Linked DNA regions of Homo sapiens: regions 1, 2 and 4 are each linked to region 3. The links are contacts of gene promoters, found by promoter capture Hi-C in human tissues and cell types (Jung and others, 2019). All regions are on one chromosome and are shown on one strand. Each heading gives the region's core, a stretch centred on a gene start or on the middle of the fragment in contact. The rest is flanking DNA. Distances are from core to core; before and after follow the strand shown.

Evidence for each region. The method cuts DNA at HindIII sites, captures the fragments that hold promoters and counts their contacts. A contact is called where the count stands out against the background at its distance.
Region 1: a contact is called between the fragment with the promoter of CDC34 here and the fragment with the promoter of WDR18 in region 3, in 1 of the 25 tissues and cell types used here (spleen).
Region 2: the fragment with the promoter of POLRMT here is called in contact with the fragment with the promoter of WDR18 in region 3 in 1 of the 25 tissues and cell types used here (dorsolateral prefrontal cortex).
Region 4: a contact is called between the fragment with the promoter of PRSS57 here and the fragment with the promoter of WDR18 in region 3, in 1 of the 25 tissues and cell types used here (lymphoblastoid cells).

The regions. Positions count from the first base shown.
Region 1 is chr19:529,978-533,379 of GRCh38, reverse strand. It overlaps CDC34 (cell division cycle 34, ubiquitin conjugating enzyme), which reads right to left and starts at 1,620. Exons shown (of 5, transcript NM_004359.2): 1 at 1,272-1,620. The coding sequence starts at 1,448. RefSeq lists enhancers at 246-405, 476-525, 923-1,579 and silencers at 786-955, 1,376-2,115. The HindIII fragment of the contact is 13,520 bases long and covers 1-3,402 here.
Region 2 is chr19:631,980-635,374 of GRCh38, reverse strand. POLRMT (RNA polymerase mitochondrial) reads left to right here and starts at 1,838. Exons shown (of 21, transcript NM_005035.4): 1 at 1,838-1,950; 2 at 2,437-2,541. The coding sequence starts at 1,863. LOC105372234 (a long non-coding RNA gene) reads right to left here and starts at 1,911. Exons shown (of 2, transcript XR_936226.2): 1 at 1,480-1,911; 2 at 1-1,391. RefSeq lists silencers at 1,625-1,884, 1,895-2,054. The HindIII fragment of the contact is 7,301 bases long and covers 1,766-3,395 here.
Region 3 is chr19:982,505-986,005 of GRCh38, reverse strand. It overlaps WDR18 (WD repeat domain 18), which reads right to left and starts at 1,661. Exons shown (of 10, transcript NM_024100.4): 1 at 1,443-1,661; 2 at 31-141. The coding sequence starts at 1,652. RefSeq lists enhancers at 1,342-1,521, 1,552-1,701, 1,126-2,067 and silencers at 1,752-1,841, 3,006-3,395. The HindIII fragment of the contact is 34,067 bases long and covers 1-3,501 here.
Region 4 is chr19:693,478-697,023 of GRCh38, reverse strand. PRSS57 (serine protease 57) reads left to right here and starts at 1,572. Exons shown (of 5, transcript NM_001308209.2): 1 at 1,572-1,672; 2 at 2,057-2,210. The coding sequence starts at 1,594. The HindIII fragment of the contact is 19,970 bases long and covers 1-3,546 here.

The DNA.
Region 1 (3,402 bases), core at 371-2,870, 450 kb after region 3:
GACACTAATTAGCTCGGAGAGCAGACACATATCGTGCGGGAGGCATCGGTCCCTCGGCCCCACGCCCGCAGCTGGCCGGGGCAGAGCGGGCCGGGCCCTGCAGTGTCGTGTCGTGTCCAGGCTCTTGGCAGGAAGTGACGGTGGGAGGGGGAGATTCCTGGACAGGGTGCTCGTTCCCCACCGCTCACACAGGGCCCCTCGCTTTGTCCCTCTGGCCCCAAGAACGAGGTCCCTGAACGCTAAAAGAAGTCAAAGGTCACGTCTGGATCGTGAGATCAAGAAAACTGCCCTGGTTTTGGCCTGAGTCCTTTTCACATGAGACAGAAACAGCCTCCCCGCTCCCAACAACAACAAAAACATCCAGAAACTGCTTGGAATTAAACCGCCAGAGGGCAGAAGAAACGGCCCAGAACTCGGGGTTTGGGTCCCAAGAAGCCACCTGTTCAGTGGACTCTGAGAAAGGCCAAGACCAGCTGGGATGAGCGAGCCCGGAGCTTCTGAGGTCGGGGTCCGGGACGCGGGCCCGAGCCGGGAGGCCTGGAGAGAGCTGCAGGGAGCAGGTGGGAGGCACGCCCCTACTTCGGCCTTCCCGAGGGCGCAGGTTACATAAAGCAGGGGATGGAGCCCAGGGCGCCTGGCCGGCTGCTACTGGCAAGGGTGGCCGCTTTCCAGGCGGGTCCTGGCTGCCAAGGCTCATCCGGGCCTTTGTTGGAGACTGAGCGAGTGGCCGCGCCAGCCACCCCCAGGCTGGCCTCGCTCCCCCGCTCACGGGCCCAGCTCCCCAACAATAGCAGCTACGGGGTCTGGGGGGGCCTCTTTGTCTCCTCCGGGGAGGGCGGGGAGGGCAGCTGAAAGGCCGGCGCGGCCTGGGCTCCGCTCCCTCTTTCTCGCAGGGGCGGAGGGGGAGGCAGCCGGGGTCCAGCCCCCGCCAAGGAGGAGGTGGGCAAGAGCCCCACGCCCAGATGCTACAGGGAGGGCCCCCGGCCACCCCTCCGGGGGCCAAGAGCCTAACAGGGGACCGGACGATGCCTTGAAGGGAACTGGGGATTTTCGAGGACTGCAGCAGAGGCTGAAGGTCCCCGAGACGGTCCGAGGAGGGGGCCGGGCAGAGCTGGGTGGGGGAACGTGGCCATAGAAGGGAAACGAGCCCAAGCCAGGAGGCTTCGGGGCCCGCCCAGCAACAGCGCTAGGACCGCGGGGCAGGGAGCTGGTTCCCGGCGCCCGAGGTCGCTCGTGGGCTCCGGGACCCGGGCGGGGGTCGCCGCGCTCACCTTGAAGTAGCCGCCCTCGTAGTAGGTGTTGGGGGGCCCGAAGATGGCCACCTCCCAGTTGTATAGATCGCCCTCGTCCACCAGTGTCACGCGGAATCCCTCGACCGGCTCTTCCTGCAGCCCCTTGAGCTCCAGCAGCAGCGCCTTCTGCGAGCTGGGCACTAGCGGCCGAGCCATGGCGGCGGCGGAGGGGCCCGGGGTCGGAGCAGCGCGGGGCCGCGCGACCACCGCGAGTTCGCGAGACGGGCCGGGCCGCGCACCGTCCGGGGGGGAGCCACCGGGGCCGCCGCCTGCCTCCTCCTCTGCGCCGCCGCCGCCGCCCGGGGACCCCGAGCGCTCCAGCAGCTCTGGCGCCGCCGCCCCACCGGCGCTTGCCTTGGCCGGGCCCGCGCGCCCCGCCCCCCGCTGCGCCTGCGCGCACCGCCTGGCCCCGACTGCGCCTGCGCTCCGCGGCCAGGTCCGACTTGCGCCTGCGCGCCCGGCCGCAGGGGACGCCGGGAGGTGGAGTCCCGGCCCCGGTCCCGCCTACGGCGCCGAGCGCCTCCGCCGGGAGGGAGGGTTCGAGCGCGCAGCCCCGGGCTCTTCCGATCCCCGAGGCCGCCGCCGTCGCCCCCTGCTCGACCAGCACCGCGGACGCTGTGCGCAAGGAGGCGGGCAGGGCTGCTCTGCGCCGTCACCGGCCCGGTCCCCCGGCTTTGGGGTTGTTTTGTGACGTGCCGGCGCGGGGCGGGGCCGCGGGCGGTGAACGGGGCGCGGCGCGGGGTCCTGACCGGGACCGGAGGGGCAGGGCCGGTCCATCCGGCGCGACCCCGCGTCCCCGTCTCCGTTTCCCCGTCTGTGCAGGGGACGGGCGCGAAGTCTGTCCTAGGGTCGCGCTGGCCACGCGGAAGGGAGGAAGGGGCGGGAGCGAGGCGGGATCCGCAGACCTGGCTTCCAGGCGCGGCGCTGCCTCGGTTCCCCCGACAGCGGGAGCTCTGAGAAGTGGGCGAGGTCGGGGAGGGCTCTGAGGGGTGGGAGGGGCGAGGGCTTCCCTGGTCCCCGTTGAAGTCACCATGTGGTGTGAGGCGAGTGCAGGCGCTGGAGCCATCAGAGGTTGGCAAGGTGCTCCTGCCCCCCAGAGAAACTGGGAAAGAGGCCTACGCCGGCCAGCATCGGCTCAGCACCTGACCCGGGAGAGGCGCCAGCCCCACGGAGCCCCCACCCCAAGCTGAGCCCGAGCCTGGCTGTGCCCTCCTCCCAGCCTGACCTTTGTCCTACCCGAGTCTTTTTTTTTTTTTTTTTTTTAAATGAGACAGAGTCTCGTTCTGTGGCCCAGGCTGGAGTGCAGTGGCACAATCTCACTGCAACCTCCGCCTCCCGGGTTCAAGCTAGTGTCCGCCTCAGCCTCCCGAGTAGCTGAGATTACAGGTGCCCGCCACCACGTCCGGCTAATTTTGTATTTTAAGTAGAGATGGGGTTTCACCATGTTGGCCAGGCTGGTCTCGAACCCCTGACCTCAAGTGTGTTGTTAGGTTTTGAAAGGAAGGGGAGGATGCAGTTTGGACTAATAAAGGGATCCGTCTGCGTCGGCCTCCCAAATGCTGGGATTATAGGCATGAGCCACCGCGCCCAGCCCACCTGAGTCTTGACCCCAGCTGATTCCGGGCATCACTGTGACCCCACCTGACTTCTGACCTGGCTCAGTGGCTGCCCAGACACCCACATGCTCCTTGCTGTGAAGCTTGGTCGGGAGAACTGGCCGTGGTGAGGACGGGGCAGCCCAGCCTCCCCTGAGTCGTGCCCGTGACGGGTGGCCCTGCCCTCGGACTGTGCCAGTGGCATTGTTGCTATGCCCTGGGTACACACAGCTGCATCAACATACAGGCCGGGCACGGTGGCTCACGCCTGTGATCCCAACACTTTGGGGGGCCGAGGCGGGCGGATCACAATGTCAGGAGATCGAGACCATTGTGGCTAATATGGTGAAACCCCGTCTCTACTAAAAATACAAAAAATTATCTGGGCGTGGTGGCGGGCGCCCGTAGTCCCAGCTACTCGGGAGGCTGAGGCAGGAGAATGGCGTGAGCCCGGGAGGCGGAGCTTGCAGTGAGTCTAGATAGCGCCACTGCGCTCCAGCCTGGGCGACAGAGAC
Region 2 (3,395 bases), core at 589-3,088, 350 kb after region 3:
GTGAGGTCGAGTCCTCGTTCTGGGCTGATGGGGAAACTGAAGTGCCAGGGTTTGGGGATGGAGGATAGCTTGAGCTGAGGCCCCCGAGCCCCCGTGTGGTCAGGCCCCCTAACTGAGCCCCAGCTACATCTTTGCTCCCTCTCCCCAGCCCCACTCTGCTCAAATTGCTCCTCTGTCCACGCTTGTTCCTGCCTCAGGGCCTTTGCACTTGTTTTGTTTTGAGACAGGGTCCTGTTCTGTCAACCCAGGCTGGAGTACAGTGGCGCCATCTCAGCTCACTGCAGTCTAAACCTCCTGGGCTCAAGCAGTCCTCCTGCCTCAGCCTCCCGAGTATCTGGGACCACAGGTGTGCACCACCATGCCTGGCTAATTTCTTTTTTTCCTTTGGTGGAGACTGGGTCTCAGTATCTCGGTTGCCCAAGGCTTGTCTGGAACTCCTGGGCTCAAGCGATCCTCCCGCCGCAGCCTCCCAAAGTGCTGGGATTACAGGCCTGAGGCACTGAACTGACCTCCCTTTGCACTTTTTTTTTTTTGAGACAGGTTCTCGCTCTGTCACCCAGGCTGGAGTGCAGTGGCGAGATCTTGGCTCACTGCAACCTCCGCCTCCCGGGTTCAAGCGATTCTCCTGCCTCAGCCTCCCGAGTAGCTGGGATTACAGGTGCCCGCCACCACCCCCGGATAATTTTTGTATTTTTACTAGAGACGGGGTTTTGCCATGTTGCCAGGCATGCTTGCGTATTTGCCAAGCTGGTCTCGAACTCTGACCTTAGGTGATCCGCCCGCCTCAGCCTCCCAAAGTGCTGGGATGACAGGCCTGAGCCACCAAACCAGCTCCCCTTTGCAACTGGGATATTAGCCTGGAACACAGTTACCCCCAGATATTCCTATTCTCACCCTTCCCAAGCCTACTGCCCCACAGCAGGCGCTCCCGCCTCTGGCCTGCTGCCCCGGCTGAACGACACAGGTGGGCACACCTTCCAGGTTCCATTCTAAAGCTCCCGCCCTGCTCCTCCTAGGCAGGATCACGCGGAGACCAGGGCAGGCTCTAGGCTCCGAGGTTTATTTCATTCCCTTGACCTCACCCCACTTAGCAGGTGAATCCAAGCCTGCCGCTCCATTCGGCTCCTGCCCCTGAGGGCTTGGGGATTGGAGGGTAAACTGAAGCTGGAGGCTGGGAGTCTCGCGGACTGGGGCTTTCTCTCCTTGCAGCCTCCCTGAGGTCGCACGTGCTGTGTCTTCCAGCAACTTGGTGGCCCTCTCTGAGCCTCAGCTTCCTCCATGATAGACGGCATCCTAATGACTCTTACCCAAAAGTTGTCGTTGGAGCAATGAAGGTTGCGGACAGGAATCTCTAAATTGCAGATGCTGTCCTCGTTATTAGATGAGTATGCCTTGAAAAAAAAAAAAAAAAAGCCGGGCACGGTGGCGGCGTCTGCAATCCCAGCGCTTTGGGAAGCCGAGGGGCGAGGATCTCTTTACCCCAGCAGTTCGAAGCTGCACTGAGCTATGATCACGCCACTGCACTCCAGCCTGGGCCACAACGCGTCCAAAACAAAACCAAAAAAGAAAGAAAAACAGAAAAAAAGTCCGGATTTGAGGTCCTCGGGAAAACAGCCTGAGAGTGCCTCCCAGTTGCCACGGCAACAGCTCTGTCCCGCCCCCTCCCTTTAAAAACAGCAGGAGGAACCAATCAGAGCGTCCACCGGCGCATGCCTTCGCGCCTCCGCTGCATCCTGGGAGTCTACTTCCGGCTGGGGTTTCCCTTCGCAGCCTCCGTCGACCATGAAACCACAACTCCCGGCAGGCGGCGCGGGCGCATGCGCAGGCGCGGGCCGGTGGGGTGGCCTGGAGCGGCGTGCGTAATGTCGGCACTTTGCTGGGGCCGCGGAGCGGCGGGGCTCAAACGAGCCCTACGGCCTTGCGGCCGCCCGGGACTCCCCGGCAAAGAAGGTAACACAAAGGGAGACGGCCAGGCAGCCCGGGGGCCACGGCGTGGGCTCCTCCCCGCGCGGCCGGGGCCTTTGGCGCTTTGACCTTTGCCTCTTTGCACCTGGGCGTGCGCAGCCCACCGACCCGGCCCCGCTTTCCACTCGCCCTTGCCCGCTTTTCGACTGAGGCTCCTCCGTGCAGTCTGACCTTTGACTCGTGGTTTCTTATGCAGCCTCCTGACCCCAGGTGTGGTGTTTAGGGCTCTTAACCTTTGACCTGCTGCACCTCGAGTGCGAGGAACCCTCTCTCGGCGGTTCCGCGCCCGTGTTCGCCGCGGCGGGGCCCTTCCACCTTCGCTGTCTTAGTTTCTTTCCAACTTAAGCCCGTGCTCCGAGAGTTTCCGCTGCGTTTAGGGCTCCTTTGCCCTTCGACCCTTCGGCTTCTGCCTTTATGGAGGCCCCCGCCCACACGCCCGGCCCCGCTCAGCCGCTCTCGTCTTTCCCGCAGGGACCGCCGGTGGCGTCTGCGGCCCCAGGAGGAGCTCGTCCGCCAGCCCCCAGGAGCAAGACCAAGACCGCAGGAAGGACTGGGGCCACGTGGAGCTGCTGGAGGGTGAGCGCGACCCCCACGGCGGCCCGGGAGAGGAGAGTCCGCTCCCTGCTGCCGGGAGAAAAGGCAAAGGCTCAGATTCTGAGACAGGCTGAGGGCGGTCTCCACCTCTCGGGTCCCAGGACACGCCCAGACGGCGTTGCTGAAACATCTCTTGCACCGCTCATGGGCCCTGTCCTTGCTGAGCAGGCTCCTTCCTGGAGCTCTCGTAATTCCCCCTCCCCAGAACCCCACCAGGTGCTCCCACTTTCCAGGGACATAGGTGAGGCCCAAGATTATGTCTGGAGAGACCCCCCCCCCGGCCCCGCCGCCAAGGCCACATGTGCAGAGCCAGGATGTGAACCCTGAACTGACTCAGCTGTCCTGGCTTGGCTCTGGGGGGTAGGCGCCTAATGGAGACTGGATGACTGCGAAACTTGGGAGGGACAGCCCAGGCTCCAGCGGTGGCAGGCCCTCGTCCTGGCCTGGCTGGTGGTGTGGGAGGGAGGTGGGAGCTTCCCTGTGCTTGCTTCCCGCCGGTGCTTCTGTCCCACATCCTGTCTGCGTCCATTAGGCAGCCGGGAAGGGAGAGGCGGGAGAACCTTTATAAAGGGAAAAAACCTGGCCAGGTGCGGTGGCTCACGCCTGTAATCCCAGCACTTTTGGGTGGCCGAGGTGGGCGGATCAAGAGGTCGGGGGTTCGAGGCCTGGTGCGGTGGCTCACGCCTGTACTCCCAGCACTTTTGGGTGGCCAAGGTGGGCGGATCAAGAGGTCAAGGGTCCGAGGCCTGGTGCGGTGGCTCACGCCTGTAATCCCAGCACTTTGGGAGGCCGAGGCGGGCGGATCAAGAGGTCATGAGTTCAAGACCAGCCTGGCC
Region 3 (3,501 bases), core at 412-2,911:
TGGGAAACGCTCACGCTTTGCTCCTCTTACCTCCCACAGGTGGATGCTTTCTGCAACTCCTGCCAGGACGTAGAGACCATTGGGTGATGCAGTCAGACAGGTGACAGGCCCGGGGCACATGATCTTCTGCTGGAGCTGGTCCTAAGGATGCACAGTCAGCCTCGTGAGCCCCATGCAGGACACGGGAGCTACTACAGCAGTGGAGGGCGAGGGGAGGGGACGCCTGGGCAATGGCTAAGTCAGAGAACCAGGAAGAGGAGTCGGGAGCAGGGTGGTTTGAGCAAATGCATGGTCCAGCAAGGAAGTGTTCGCCCCTGCAAGAGGCTTCGAGGCTGGAGGTGGTAGATGTGAGGTTGGTGCTTCCTCTGAGGGTCAGAGGGGCCCTGGGTGGGAGGAGTACAGGAACAGAACAAAGAGGATCCAGAAGGACACTGGGGCCCAAGAGCCCAGTAGGCTTGTGCCCCAATCCTTCTATCCATAATGTCCAACCTAAGACCCCAAGCCTCAGCTTCCTCCTCTCTAAAATGGGAAAACTCAGCCGGGCGTGGTGGCTCACGGCTGTAATCCCAGCACTTTGGGAGGCTGAGGTGGGCAGATCACTTGAGGTCAGGAGTTCGAGACCAGCCTGGCCAACATGGTGAAACCCTGCCTCTACAAAAAATACAAATGTGGGCCGGGTGTGGTGGTTGGTGCGGGCCTGTAGTTGCAGCTACTCAGGAGGCTGAGGCCCGAGAATCGCTTGAACCCTAGAGGCAGAGGCTGCAGTGAGCCGAGATCGCACCACTGCACTCCAGCCTCAGCGACAGAGTGAGACCCTGTCTCAAAACTAAAATAAAATGGGAGAAATTTATGAGTTGTGTGTAGACTCCATCAGGCAATGCTGGAGCACAGAGCCAGTCCCAAGAGATCTCAGCGGGCACACGGGGGAAGCGAGTAGCTTCAGGGACTGGCTGCATTTGGGCTTGGGAGTAGAGGGGAAACTGTGGGCGACGGTGAGTATCTGTTGCTTTATTGGAGGAATAAACATGAGTTTCCTGCGCCACCCCTTCATGGGAGACTCCCCCAGACCTTGGTCCTTCTCCCTTTTCCTCCAGAACCACAACATCCACAGAGCTCATAGGCCCCTTTTAATCAAATTTCGCGCTCCAAGAACTCGTGCATGCGCAATTGCCCCAAGGGACCCCCCGGAGCGTCTCCCATTTTCCCCCACTGCCCCCATAGCAGCTCAGGCCTGAGCCCCGCGCGTGCGCAGAGCGGCCTAACAGGTCGCACGTATCTCCCCAAAGCCCCCAGACCCGCGCATGCGCAGAGCGCCCGAACGGAGACCACCTCCCCTCCCCACGCCAATTCCGACTAAGGGTGCACGCGGCCCCCACCAACCCATCCCCCGACTTCAGCCTCGGGCGCCCCATGACCCCAGCAGCGAGACCGCACCGCCGCACCTTCCGCTGGAGCTCCCAGGCGCTGATGTAATTCTTGCCCAGCTGCGCCGCCAGCAGATACTCGCCATTGAGCAGCGCCAGGCCGCGGGGTCCCGCCTGGCCGCCGCGGTAGGTGAGCAGGTTGGCGCCCGAGTGAAGTTCCCACACGATGCAGCTCCACATCGGGGCCGCCGAGTCCGTACACACGGCCACCTCCATGGGCGCCGCCATCTTGCCTTCCCCACCGCCCCGGACGTGCGTCATCATGAGCGAGACGCGGACGACTGCCCCACGCGGGCCAGAGCGGCGGCCCCGCGGCCCCAGCGGGTGGCCGACCCGCGCATGCGCCCGTGCCTCGGAGAGAGGGGCTTTCTTGTGAAGTGGGATTTCCCGCTTACCTGAGACTCGAGGGTCGCGCGGCCTGCTTAGAGATCTGGGGAGGCGACTTCTTCCAAGGCCCAGGGTCTCCGGCGATCAGTTAGTAGCTCTAGAGCCGGGGTACCTGACTTGGCCTTTTCCTCCTGGGCATTTTTGGCCAAGTGACTCAAGCTCTTGGATTCATTTATTTTTAAATGTTCAAATAATAAAGTTCCGACGTCACAGGCCTAAATGACACATTGCGCCTAAAAGAGAGAGCGCACACCCAGCAACATGGCTAGTTGGCGATGAATACATTGGAATTCACTGCTTCCTTATTTATTTAGTTTTGTAGAGCCAGGGTCTCACTGTCCTGCCCAGGCTGGCCTCGAACTCCTGAGCTCAAGTGATCCTCCCAGCTCGGCCTGCCAAAGTGCTGGGATTACAGGCGTGAGCCACCGCGCCCGGCCCAGTGTTTCCTTATTGGTCGACATCTGCCTCCCCCTTGACCCCTCTTTAGGGGCCTCAACATCTAAATTATTAGTCGGATAGCTTGGTGTAGGTCAAACAAGTCGCCAGTTCTGTCCGAGCCAAGCAGGGTCTAACTTCATGTCACGGCTGCCCGTCACGGACCATGTCTGAAAACGGCATTCAAAAAAAAAAAAAGGCCGGGCGCTTTGGCTCAGGCCTGTAATCCCAGCACTTTGGGAGGCCGAGGTGGGTGGATTACCTGAGATCAGGAGTTCGAGACTACCCTGGCCAACATGGCGAAACCCCGTCTTTACAAAAAGTACAAAAAGCCGGGCGTGGTGGGAGGCTGAGGCAGGAGAATCGCTTGAACCCGGGAGGCGGAGGTCTCAGTGAGCCGAGATCCCAGGCACTCCAGCCTGGGCGAATGAGACTCTGTCTCAAAGAAAAACATATATCTATTATTTATTTATACTAAATATATATCTAGTAGAGATGGGGGGTCTCACTGTGTTGCTCAGGCTGGTCTCCAACACCTGGGCTTAGGCCTTGGCCTCTTAAACCGCTGGGATTACAGGCTTCAGCCACAACGTCCGGCCTAAAAACAGTATGATTTAAAATGTGCAATTAGTTGCCAACCCCTTAAAAAGGGATAAAAAGGGAGCATTCATTTAAAAGTCGGGATTTCCGCCCGGGGGTTGCAGCTGACCTGGGTCGTGTGCCCTCGAGCAGCAAGAGGCAGGGGCTGGAGGCTGCATGCGGGGTGCGGTCCCCGGAGGCGGTGCGACTCCTGGTCCGCGGCTCCCGGCGGAGGGCACGGCCGGGGCAGGAGGCTGGTGCCAGAGCGTGCGGCGCCGCAGCCCCGCTGGCCGCCAGGTGGCAGGCGCGAGCCACCGACCCCGAGCCCAGGCCAGAGGGAGGGCGGCCCCGGGGACCCGCCTGGTCGGCAGGAGGGGCCGTTTGAGCGGGGAGCCAGCGACCCCCAGAGAACCGTGTGCGGGGCAGGCCCGTGCGAAGGCCCTGGGGCAGGACCACGGAGCGGGGCCGGGCCGTGCAGGGCCGTGTGAACGAGGCCTGGATTTCATTTTATCCTGGGAGGGAGGGAGGGAGTCCAATCCAAGGACCTGCTGTGCCTCCAGAGTTTCCTCCAACCTCATTTTTATTTTCTTTCTTTATTTTGCGACAGTCTTGCTCTGTGGCCCAGGTTGGAGTGCAATGGTGCGATCTCGGCTCACTGCTACCTCTGCCTCCCGGG
Region 4 (3,546 bases), core at 323-2,822, 290 kb after region 3:
TCGGCCTCCCAAAGTGCTAGGATTATAGGCGTGAGCCACTGCACCCGGCCCCAGCCTGTTCATTATTAAGCGCTGACGAGCACCCCACTGCTAGCCACTGCCGTGAACGCCATCACCCGGCTGTGTGAGCTGCAATTTACGACCTGAACTTTGCCACTAAGAACGCTCCCACTGAAAGGTGAAGACCTGCCGGGCTGGGCGCGGTGGCTCAGGCCTGTCATCCCAGCACTTTGGGAGGCTGAGGCAGGTGGATCACCTGAGGTCGGGAGTTCGAGACCAGCCTGACCAACATGGAGAAACTCCGTCTCTACTAAACACACAAATTTAGCGGGGCGTGGTGGTGGGCACCTGTAATCCCAGTTACTCAGGAGGCTGAGGAAGGAGAATCCCTTGAACTCAGGAGACAGAGGTTGCGGTGAGCCAAGATCGCGCCACTGCACTCTAGCCTGGGCAACAAGAGCAAGATTCCTTCTCAAAAAAAAAAAAAAAAAAAAAAAGGCCGGGCACCGTGGCTCATGCCTGTAATCCCAGCACTTTGGGAGGCCGAGGCGGGCGGATCATGAGGTCAGGAGATCGAGACCATCCTGGCTAATATGGTGAAACCCCGTCTCTACTAAAAATACAGAAACAAAATTAGCCGGCTGTGGTGGCGGGCGCCTGTAGTTCCAGTTACTCGGGAGGCTGAGGAACGAGAATCACTCGAACCCGGGAGGTAGAGGTTGCGGTGAGCCGAGATGGTGCCATTCCACTCTAGCCTGGGCAACAAGAGCAAGACTCCATCTCAAAAAAAAAAAGAAAAGAAAAAAAAGGTGAAGACCCCCATGTACAGCCATGTCCCACTGGACTCCGGATCCCACAGAACGTCAGTGCTACAGGCTGGGGTGCGGTCACTGCCTCATCCTCACCTCCTAGCATGAGGTCTGGTATACACTAGGCACTCAATAACTGCTGAATAAAGGCAGAAATCTGCCAGGTGCAGTGGCTGTCTTCTGTGATCTCAGCACTTTGGAAGGCCGAGGAGGGAGGATCGCTGGAGCCCAGGAGTTCGAGACCAGCCTGGGCAACATAGCAAAACCCCACCTATAAAAATAAAATAAAATAAAGGCAGAAATCATCAGAGCTTCCCAGGAGACCGGCCTTCCTCGCTGTCCCCACAGCCCTGAGGTCGGCCCTGGGTTTGGAGATGGGAAGACTGGGGTTTGCGGGGTGGGGGCCGGAGGCGAGCTGCGGGTCTCGAGTGCCGCTGTGACCTCGGTTCCTCGGAAAGCTCCCCACACATGCTGGGCCACGTGGAGGCTGGGTAAACTGAGGCACAGAAGGGTCAATTGCCTTCCCGAGGTCACTTGCAGCCCCAGAGCTGTCTCCTCCTCTCCCTGTTTCCGGACTAGGGGACAATGATTATTATCAACATGATTATTACCAGCCACCACCTGAGACCATCGATTTCTCAGAAACGCCCGCCTGGGCTCCAGGCGTTGCTGGTGGGGCCTCCCGACCACAGGCCACAGCCAGGCTCCCCCTTTCCGGCCGTTGGCTGAGGGTGGGAGCCACGGCCCGAAGACCTCTGCGGGGAGACGCCAGCCTGCGTCTGCCATGGGGCTCGGGTTGAGGGGCTGGGGACGTCCTCTGCTGACTGTGGCCACCGCCCTGATGCTGCCCGTGAAGCCCCCCGGTGAGGAGCCCCCCGGGATCCCCACCCAGGCCCCCGCCAAGTCCCCGTACGGGGGCCACACCCGGGAACCCCCAGTCCCGGGAGAACCCTGGGGAGAGCTCCACCTGCTCCATCTGCCGAGCCCCCGTGGCTGCCTCTGCTGGAAATGGATGGAAATCCGGCCGGGGTCTCTGCCCAGCCCAGCCCTGGATCTCCCGGGCTCGGGAGCCCCTCCCAGCGCATCTGGGGGGCTTGTCTGGGCTCTGTCTCCAGCTCTCTGGGTCTCTCCGTCTCTAATCTCACCCCCTGTCTCTGTCTTGGCCGCTACTTCTCCCCCTGCCCTGACCCCAGCCCCGTCATCCGTTCCTCCCGCCTCGTCCCTGACTCAGGCCGTCCCTCCAGCAGGCTCCTGGGGGGCCCAGATCATCGGGGGCCACGAGGTGACCCCCCACTCCAGGCCCTACATGGCATCCGTGCGCTTCGGGGGCCAACATCACTGCGGAGGCTTCCTGCTGCGAGCCCGCTGGGTGGTCTCGGCCGCCCACTGCTTCAGCCACAGGTGAGCTCACCTGTCGGGCCCCTTCTTTCTGGACACCGTATCCCGACATGAGGGGGACTCCAGGCTGGTGGGGGAGCTGGGGGCGCCGTGGCTCCTGCAGGAGGGGGAGTCTCAGCAGGGGCTGGATTTAAAGGGCAACAAAGGGAAAACAGGAGGATAAGGCAGGGAGGCAAAAGAAGCACAGAAGAAGCAACAGGCGCAACAAGTACATATTCTGTTACTGTAACTGTCACTATGTTCTTTTTTTTTTTTGAGGCAGTCTCGGTTCCCCAGGCTGGAGTGCAACGGTGCAATCTCGGCTCACTGCAACCTCCACCTCCCGGGCTCAAGCGATTCTCCTGCCTCAGCTTCCCGAGTAGCTGGGATCACAGGCGCCCACCACCACACCTGGCTAATTTTTGCATTTTTAGTAGAGACTGGATTTCACCATGTTGGCCAGGCTGGTCTCGAACTCCTGACTTCAAATGATCCACCCGCCTCTGCCTCCCAAAGTGCTGGGATTGCAGGTGTGAGCCGCCATGCCCTGCCTCGTTTTAAACATATTGTTATAATAACTATTAAAATGTATATTGGGGCCAGGGTGGGTGGGTCCCCTCCTGCAGGAGCCCCCACCAGGCACGGGATAGGTTGGTCCTGGGCTGCAGTGTCCCCAGCTCCCCCGCCAGCCTGCAGTCCCCCTCACGTTGGGACACGGTGGATTGTTTGAGGTCAGGAGTATGAGACCAGCCTGGCCAACATGGTGAAACTCTGTCTCTACTAAAAATACGAAAATTAGGCTGGGTGCGGTGGCTCATGCCTGTAATCCCAGCACTTTGGGAGGCCGAGGCAGGAGGATCACGAGGTCAGGAGATCGAGACCATCCTGGCTAATACAGTGAAACCCCATCTCTACTAAAAATACAAAAAAATTAGCCGGATGTGGTGGCAGGCGCCTGTAGTCCCAGCTACCCAGGAGGCTGAGGCAGGAGAATGGCGTGAACCCGGGAGGCGGCGCTTTCAGTGAGCCGAGATCGCGCCACTGCACTCCAGCCTGGGGGACAGAGCGAGACTCTGTCTCAAAAAAAAAATACGAAAATTAGTTGGGCATGGTAGCAAGTGGCTGTACGTATCCCCAGCTACTCGGGAGGCTGAGGTAGGAGAATCACTTGAACCCAGGAGGTGGAGGTGGCAGTGAGCCGAGATGGCACCACTGCACTCCAGCCTAGGGGAAAGAGTGAGATTCTGTCGGAAAAAAAAAAGTTAATTGTGGTTTTTGCCATTTAATTTTTTTCGTGCAATTACTTTTGCACCAACCTAATATTATCACGGGGCCGGCGTGAGCATTAAATGGATTACTG